Regions from separate parts of the Homo sapiens genome. Here region 2 is linked to region 1. Evidence: promoter capture Hi-C in 16 types of primary human blood cells and fetal thymus (Javierre and others, 2016). All regions are on one chromosome and are shown on one strand. Each heading gives the region's core, a stretch centred on a gene start or on the middle of the fragment in contact. The rest is flanking DNA. Distances are from core to core; before and after follow the strand shown.

Evidence for each region. The method cuts DNA at HindIII sites, captures the fragments that hold promoters and counts their contacts. A CHiCAGO score of 5 or more calls a contact.
Region 2: a contact is called between a fragment that was not itself captured here and the fragment with the promoter of TBRG1 in region 1, in 2 of 17 cell types (megakaryocytes and M2 macrophages). The highest score is 7.3, in megakaryocytes.

What each region holds. Positions count from the first base shown.
Region 1 is chr11:124,620,489-124,624,879 of GRCh38, forward strand. TBRG1 (transforming growth factor beta regulator 1) reads left to right here and starts at 2,376. Exons shown (of 9, transcript NM_032811.3): 1 at 2,376-2,745. The coding sequence starts at 2,596. It overlaps LOC124902779 (a long non-coding RNA gene), which reads right to left and starts at 2,713. Exons shown (of 2, transcript XR_007062932.1): 1 at 1-2,713. RefSeq lists an enhancer at 2,453-2,522. The HindIII fragment of the contact is 1,322 bases long and covers 2,169-3,490 here.
Region 2 is chr11:124,410,010-124,414,400 of GRCh38, forward strand. No RefSeq gene overlaps it. Among named protein-coding and RNA genes, the nearest start is that of OR8B4, 13 kb to the right of the region's middle. The HindIII fragment of the contact is 1,139 bases long and covers 1,612-2,750 here.

The DNA.
Region 1 (4,391 bases), core at 1,126-3,625:
TGTAAGGACATAGTAGAACAAGGCTGGGGCCATGTCTCAGCCGTGAGTGGAGCCTTCAGGTGCCCAGATACACTTTTCACCATCTAAACCAGGAACTCATTTCACCAGGGGCTGGGATTATGGGCTATGGACTTCTTCACAACTGTTAACGGAGCCAGGTATGCTTTTAATACTCCAGAGGATACTATGCCTTCCCTTACAGCTAATCACTGAATAGCAAGCACTTACAAATGGGTAGACAGTAAAGTGCTATTGAACTTCTTTCTCTTCTGATTTATTACCCTATTTTAGCTTCTAACTCCCATTCCTATGCCTGTAGTTAATGGAACTTTGGTCTGACTTCAAAGACCACACTCAGACACAATATCATGCTGTCTGCCATTTTATATTTCTTTTTAGAGCTACACATTATGCATTTCTTTAAAGAATTTTTGCATAGGCCATTTAGACCCTTCTTCGTATAGTTAAGTAGAAAAGTTGTGTTGCTTCTGACAGATTCAGGTAAGTTTACCTAACACAAGCAAAGAGCTGATAGATGGTTTCCTATTGTCACTGGGTCAAAGTCCAACTCTTCAGTTGGTACACAAGACTTTTCATGACCCAAAAAACCCTACTTACTGCTTCAGTCTCTCTTCTTGCTTCTCTCTACACACATCTTTCACACTGATCAACTACTTGCAGTTCCCATACTGAGCCTTTGCATATGCTGTCTCCACCATCCAGCATGCCCCCCTTTGTTCTTCACTGGGCCAACCAACCACTACCTCTCCTTCAGAGTCTGCCCAGATGTATCTCCTTTAAGAAACCTTTCCTATCTCCTCCCTCCTTCCCTGAGTGCTGCCAAATAAAATAAAACCTACCTCTGAAACAAACTTATTATACCATATTAACATTGCCAATTTACTTGTCTGTCTTTCCTTCTTAAATTAAGGTTCTTAAAGGTGGTATCATAATAGGCACTAGGTAAATATTCTTCTAAACAAATAAGGACTGAATGAGTTGCTCAGTGGCATGACCTTTGTGGAGCACACATATCCAGCCTCTGAACAGTCCTATATGGAAAAAGCTTTGGACGCAAAGATATGCTTTTAATGGAATTGACCAAAAAGTCAAAGAACATGGAAATAATTATGCAAAATATAATATAGCCATAACTGGAATATTAACCAGCCACTTAAAATTATGCTTATAAGGAAGCTATACTAACATTTGTGAAACTGAAATGATACAATGGTAAATGAACAAAAAGAAAACTTTATTTTCAGTATTGTCTAACCTATACAAAAATGCATAAAATATTAGACACATATACTAACATGGTAAAAGTAGTTCATTCCAAGTGGTAGCATTATGGATTTTTAAACCTTTCTTGTACTATATTTTCTAAATTTCTAAAGTTCGAATGAAATGTTTTGTAAGTGTAAGGAAATGTGTCCAATGAAGAAGAAACAAAAAATATCTTCATGCAAATCCCACTAAAGTCCATTGGCCAAAACAGCCTGCAAACTAGGACAAAGGATAGCACTTTTCTTCCCCCTAGATGTGATACATGTATATGAAAATAAATAATACAAATAAAGTCAGACCCCAAAGCCCGCAAGGACAAAATACAGCAGAACAGCAAATTTTTTTTTTGAGAGAAAAAACTAGAGAGTTACTGAACTAGTTATTGGCATCGCTGGAAGAAGATGCAAGCAAGCCTTCTGCCATCCAGCCTGGGTCACTTACCAATACCGCACCCTAAAGATTTTTCTATCTTCCCTAATTTTAAATAGACCTTGGTTGTAAAGTTAGAACCATATACATGTACATATTATGTACAGAAATACACTTCTGGTTTCACTAGACAAACATTTACTGAGTGCCTACTTAGTGCTAGTATTAAAACTGCGTGTTAAATCTCTCATCTTCCCTACTAGAAAGAGCCAAGGCCTTTCTTCCTGTTCACTACTGTGTTCCCAGCTCCTGGGAAGATGATAGCATTAGGAGGCCCTGCAAACACATTTCTGTGAGCTGCAGAAAGGAACGAAGCAGGGAAAGAAGCAGAGTCCCAGCACTTGGGCTCACTTTGTCCTACAGTCTGGGAAAGCCTGTCTGCACGAAGCATGAAAAACGTATTAAAACGCAGTGGCCCAGCGGGGGAGCGTGAATGAGAGCTCGCATTGGTAAGCTTCTTGTTAGTTCGTTGGTTCAACTATAGTACCCTTCAGCTAAGCACACGGCCGCCGGCCCTCCCTCCTCTCCTCATCCAGCACTAGCCCCCAGCTGTCTCTTTCCTCCCGGTGCCCACGATCGCACCGCCCAGACCACCCTACTCTCCCTGCCCCGGAAGTTACACACTGCCGACACCGGGACGTAACTTCCGGGAAGGGCTTACTTCCAAGACAGACACGGAAGTGCTGGGAGGCGCCGGGAGCCCGTTCGGTTGCGGGTGTCTCTGGCCCTGCGGTCAGCCCTGGGAACGTCCCGGAGAGCTAGATTCCTAGAGGCCCGATTCCGCTAGCCCGGAACAGACAAAGCCAGCGCTCCCGCCCGCTCCCCGACTTAGGATCCGATGCCGGCAGCGTCCTGGGGCCCCCGTAGCGGGGCTGGACCATGAGCCTGCTGGACGGCCTCGCTTCCTCGCCGCGGGCTCCGCTGCAGTCCAGCAAGGCCAGGATGAAAAAGCTCCCGAAGAAGAGCCAGAATGAGAAGTACCGGCTGAAGTACCTGCGGCTGCGCAAAGCGGCCAAGGCCACGGTGTTTGTGAGTCTGACCCACGTTCAGCCGGTCCCCTCCTGGAGACTCCCTCACAAAATCTTTCCCCAAGCTGTTCCCCCTTCCCAGTGTGACAGTATTAATACAGTGTTGGCTTTTCCGTATACGTTACTACTTGTTAGCCTTGTGTCCTTGGACAAATTACGTAATTTCTCTGTGTCCTCATCTGTAAATGAGCTAGTAACTGTCTTGCAGAATAATGAATATTAAATGAGTAAAGAAAAGTGCTTGGTGCGTAAAAGACATACCAATAAATTTTAGTCATCGTTGTTACTGCAGGACTCTAGGAAATGTGTTTGATTCTCGAGATACAGCCCTGAGAATTAGGCATTATTTGTAAAATGAGAACACTGAAGCCCAGAGAGATGATTTGCCCAAGGGTACTGTGTCAGAGCCCTGACTCCAACTTAGATAAACCTGATTCCGTTTTATGACTTCCAGTACACAGACTATTTTCTGAGCACCTCAAATCCCCATAACTGACCCTTTGCCCAAAGAGGTACATGAAACTGTCAGTAATTTCCCCCCTCTAACCTTTGAGTGTTCCAAGTGTTTCTTCCTTTCTTTTATTGTAGAAGCACTGGATTTATTGAGTGAATAAACTTAATATAGCTTGCCAGCCATAACTTTATATTAGAATAGTTTGGCTTGCCTCAGTGCTTGGAAATAGGGGTGGAGTCCTCAAATGTCCCCCCACATCCAAGTCAACAGTTCATCTCTTCTCTCTACCAAAAGCTTGAACGTCTCTCAGCATTTTTGGAAGCATAAGGAAAGGTTCAGAAATTAGAATACACATTCCAAAAGCACTTATTCAGCACTTGCTATGTGTATTGCTTGCTATTTGCACTGGAGAGAAACAAGAAAAGTAAAACTAAGAGAACTTAGCATCTGATTGACTGTTCCCTTTCTTTTATCCCCTATACGTCAAAGGTACCTAAAGCTTGGAATTTATGTTATTTCAAGGATATTGGTTCCATCAAATACATAATGAAGATTTTGTGAAGAAAAAGCGATGTTGTTTTGAACATTGAGAGTTTGAAGTTCCACCTATGGGGGCATTCAGATTCAGCATTCCCTTCAGGATTGGTGCTTGGGAGATAGATTGAGTCATCATTTACAAAAAAAAAAAAAAAAAAAAGAAAAAAGATAATACTTGAATTCGTATAAGTAGATTGTGAAGTTTAAGAATTTTACACACTAAATTTGATTTTGTTCTGTCCAGTTTTTCTCTATTTGGGTTAGACTGGCTTTGTAAGTTTTTCAAGAGTTGAGGCACTTGGGAATAGACAGTTTTCATATTTATAGTATTTAATTTAAGCATATAAGGATTTAAGCAGTATGCCTTTTTCTTTGCCAAAGGCTATACTAATTAGGGTGACCATTAATCTTGGCTTGCCCAGGACAGTCCTGGTTCACCGTATTGTTCTGGCATAAGCATTAATAGTACCCCCTTTTCACTCAAAGATGTCCCGGATTGGATAATAAATTACATAGCTATACCCTGTCCATAGTAGAACCTGACTACCTTTATCTATGGATTTATTTATAGTTTGTCACACGGTCGAATAGCTCCTTCTTCTCAGTAATACAAGCTTTTTTGGTTTGAAATATGGATCCTCTTCCCAGCATAATAA
Region 2 (4,391 bases), core at 931-3,430, 210 kb before region 1:
GAATTCAGAGCTCCGTAGTGGAAGCAAATATCCAGATTACGCCATAGCGTGTCTCACGTGCTCAGTAATGTGGTGGCACAGCTCACCTCTGAAAGTAGGGGTGATGGTGAGCATAAAAACAGGAAGGCGGCTTGAAAGTCTGTTACAGAAGTAGGCAGATCCCCAGATTCTCTCTTCTACTCGGTGCATCCAGAAGAGTGATCCTCCTACACCCCAGCAGAAGACTGGAGGTTTATTCTGCAGAGATGAAAAATGAAACATCTCTAGAATAGAAGGCACTTGAGTGTGGAGAAGTACTATACTAAAACTGAGGGAAATAATTGGCAGTTCACATACTGAATGTTACTGTATCATTGAAATATGAGTATAAAATAAAGACACTTTCCGACATGCCAGGTGTGGTCAAGGCATACAAAGTATGGACAGGCTAGATGTCCCACAAACTCATTTTATCTTCTTCCTGATCACAAAACTAGAATACTTTTCGCAGAGTCTCTTTTGCTTAAGTACAGCCATAACTGAGTTCTAGCCATGGAGCATAAGCAAAAGTTAAGTGTGTCCGTTCCAAACTCACAAAAACTTCACTTCCATCATCTCTCACGATGCTCCCTCTTTGGCCTCACTGATGCAGAAGAGCATGTGTTAGAGATGACATAGCAACATGAGAAAAGGGTCTTGGGTCCAAGTTTATTACTTTATGGAGCTGCCCTCCATTTAGAAAAACTTATTTTAAACTCTATATGAGTAACATGGAAACTTTTATTATATTTAAGTTAAGTATATTTGCTTTCGAACACCAAGTTTTGTAAGTATGGAAAGATGATTTAAACAACAGAGAGAGTGTTAAGATGAATTTATTATAAGTACATAGAAAATTGAATGAAAAACCAAAACCATTATTTATTCTAGAAAGAACAAAGGTAGTGAAAGAAAAATGATCAAAACACATTACAGTACTTACATAAGCAAAGCATTTACATTCTTATAATTATGTAAACACTGAATATGAATCCAACTACAAAAAATAAACTGTATTGGGAGGATAAAGAGAACAGAAAGTATATTTGTGTTGAAGGGAGGTAAAAAATGAAGTTAATTCTGATATCCTAAACTGAAAACCAGTTGACTTTTTATTTAGGCCTAACACTGAAAAATCAAGAAGCAACTGCATATATTTAGTGATAGGGTGATAAAGACCAGAAAAAAAAAAGCCGAGATCTGTTTTTAATAGGACCATAGAAAATGATAAATAAGATTGAATTCTTGCCCCTAGCTTCATTTCATTAGTTTCATTTCTTATGCCCTGATCCTCTTCGATATCCTCCACATCTCATCAGCTGAAAGTGTTCAGCACCTGTAGTTCCCACATGGTAATTTTTGCTGTGGTCTATGATTCTACATTATTCACACATCTCAAAACCTTTCCTGCTGATTCTTTGAGCCAGGGGAAATTTTTTACTCTGGTTTTTTATATCTCTTGCTATCATGAACATGTTCTCATTTCAGTAGATATTTTTCTTGAGGAAAGCACTGTTTAGGATGCCACACGTTCTCTTTTCCGTCTTAGGCTTTTCACCGCTGTTTCTTCCTTGGATGTTGTTTCCCCTGGAAAGCTTTCTTTTACCACATTCTCTTATCACCACCACCACCTCTGCCTAAATTTAGCTCCATATATATATATATACACACACATATATATTTATATATATATTTATATATATATATTTAGAATTAATATATTCTGTAAGGAAAATGCAGCTTCTTAGTATTGTGGGGTTTTTTTTAAAATGATTTAAGTCCATAATGCAATGATATGGTTCAAAATTCAAAAGATTCAAAAAGGATATGCAGAGGAAAGTCTCCTTTATACCCCTGTCTCTCAGCCATCTAGCTGTCCTCCCTGGAGGCAACCAGTGCTACCAGTTACTATCAATGCTATCAGTGATATTTTATTCATATACAGTCCTATGTTGCTTAGAGACTAGGACTATATTCTGAGAAATGTGTTGTTAGGTGATTTTGTGGTTATGCAAACATCACAGAGTGAATTTACACAAACCTAAATCATACAGCCTGCCACACACCTAGGCTACATGGTACAGCCTCTTACTCCTAGGCTACAAACTCCTACAGCATGTGACTGTACTTTGTACTGTAGGCAATTGTAACACAATGGTAAGTATTGCTGTATCTAAACATATCCAATCATAGAAAATGTACAGTAAAAATATGGTATAAAAGATTAAAAATGGTACACTTGTATAGGGTACTTACCATGAATGGAGCTTGTGGGACTGGAAGTTGCTCTGGGTGAGTCAGTGAGTGAGTGGCAGGTGAACGTGGAGGTCTAGTACATTACTCTACACTACTGTAGACTTTATAAACACTCTACACTTAGGCTACACTAAATTTATCTTAAAATATTTTTCTTTCTTCAATAATAAATTAACTTTAGGTTACTGTAACATTTTTACTTTATAAATGCTTTTGTTAGAAACTAAGACACAAATGCACATGTTAACCTAGGCTTACACAGGGTCAGGATCATCAATATTACTGTCTTCCACCTCCACATCTTGTTTCATTGAATGGTTTTCAGGGACAATAACATATGGAGCTGTCATCTCCTATGGTAACAATGCCGTCTTTTGGAATCCCTCCTGAAGAACCTGCCCGAGGTTGTTTTGCAGTTAATTTTTTTTAATACGTAGAAAAAGTACACTCCAAAATAATGATGAAAGAGTATAGTAAGCTTAATACATAAACCAGTAACAGTCATTCATTAGTAAGTATTATGTACTGTACATAATAATATGTGCTATCCTTTGATATGACTGGCAGCACAGTTGGTTTGTTTACACCAGGATCACTACAAATATGTGGGTAATGCATTGTGCTATGTCTTTACCTTTTGATGGCTATGACATTGCTAGGGGATAGGAGTTTTTCAGCTCCATTATAATCTTAGGGGACTACCATCATATGTGCAATCTGTCATCAACCAAAACATCATCATGCAGTGCATAACTGCATAATGAAATTCACATGCATTATCCCACAAATTTTACACAAATAGTAGTATACTGTATGCACTGTTTTTCAACTCGCTTTTAATTTCCTATCTATCACTTCTTGAGAAACGACTGAAGAATGAGTAAGACTTAGGACCCAGGAAGAGTAGATTCAGAAGAGTAGTAAAGAGGAGTCCCAGATACCTGTGCAGTCACCATATGGACCAACCAGGCTAGACTGGAACAATGGTGTAAGAGAGATTTTTCCACTTAACAATATCTTTTGGAGATTATTTCATACATAAAGGTAGTCTTCATTTTTTATACACCTAGATAGCAGTTTTTGTACAGATATCTGAAAATCTATTTGATCTGTCCCTCTTTGATGAATAATCAAAGGACTATCTCAGTCCTTTGTTATTAACTGAGGTTAATCTCAGTCCTTTGTTATTATTTTTTAATGTAATGAGTAAACCAATATATAAATCATTAGGCATATGTATATGGTTTCCTCTCTGTCCAAATCCATACACCTATTCTTTTCCTTTATGCTTTGACTCTGGGGATATACTTTTCTTTATGATGCTGGAGCTGAGCCTCTGGAGATTAGATTTCTACTTTGCCAGACAGCTTAGTATTCAGTTCCACCAATACTCAATGCTTCCACCAGAAATAAAAAGCACCTAGAAGTATGAAAACAAATGAAATATCAGTTAGGGAGAAATGACCTGAATCCTTGATATGATTTAATCAAATGCAATGAAAGACAGCAAGAACAACACCCCCAAATGTTACAGTTGATATTATGTAAATAAGCCATAGGTTATAACCAGAGTTAAAAATGTCAGTCAACTGTATGAGCTTGTGTCTTCTGGGTGAAATCCTCCATTCAGTGTCATGTTGGAGGGACTCAACACCCATCTTCCCACTGCAGAAACCATGTAGGAGAGAAGGTCCCTCCCCATACCACCTGGCAGCCAGAAAACGGGCACCTTGACCTAGGTCAGCAGTATCTAGGTGCATGCTCCCACCTGAGAAATTAATCTACAATGATACAAACAAATGGAACCATTGGGAACCATTTGCATGGCTTCAGCAGGATCCAAGGATAGTGTGAGATGTACGGAGCAGGGGTGTGGCATTTTGGCCAGACTGTTCTTGCTGAAATATGTCCTGGTCTTGGCCTCTGGGGTTGTCTTGGTTCTTACAGTTCTGCAAGTATGGTTTTACAACCCACTCCAAATTACTTTACATCCCCAATATTCTTTCCATCAACTCCTAGAGTTACTTTCTGTTACTTGTCAGAATAAGCTCGGATGCTCTGTGAGAACTGGGAAGATGTCTGCACTGTTCAGTGTGATATCCCCAGTGCCAAATGCA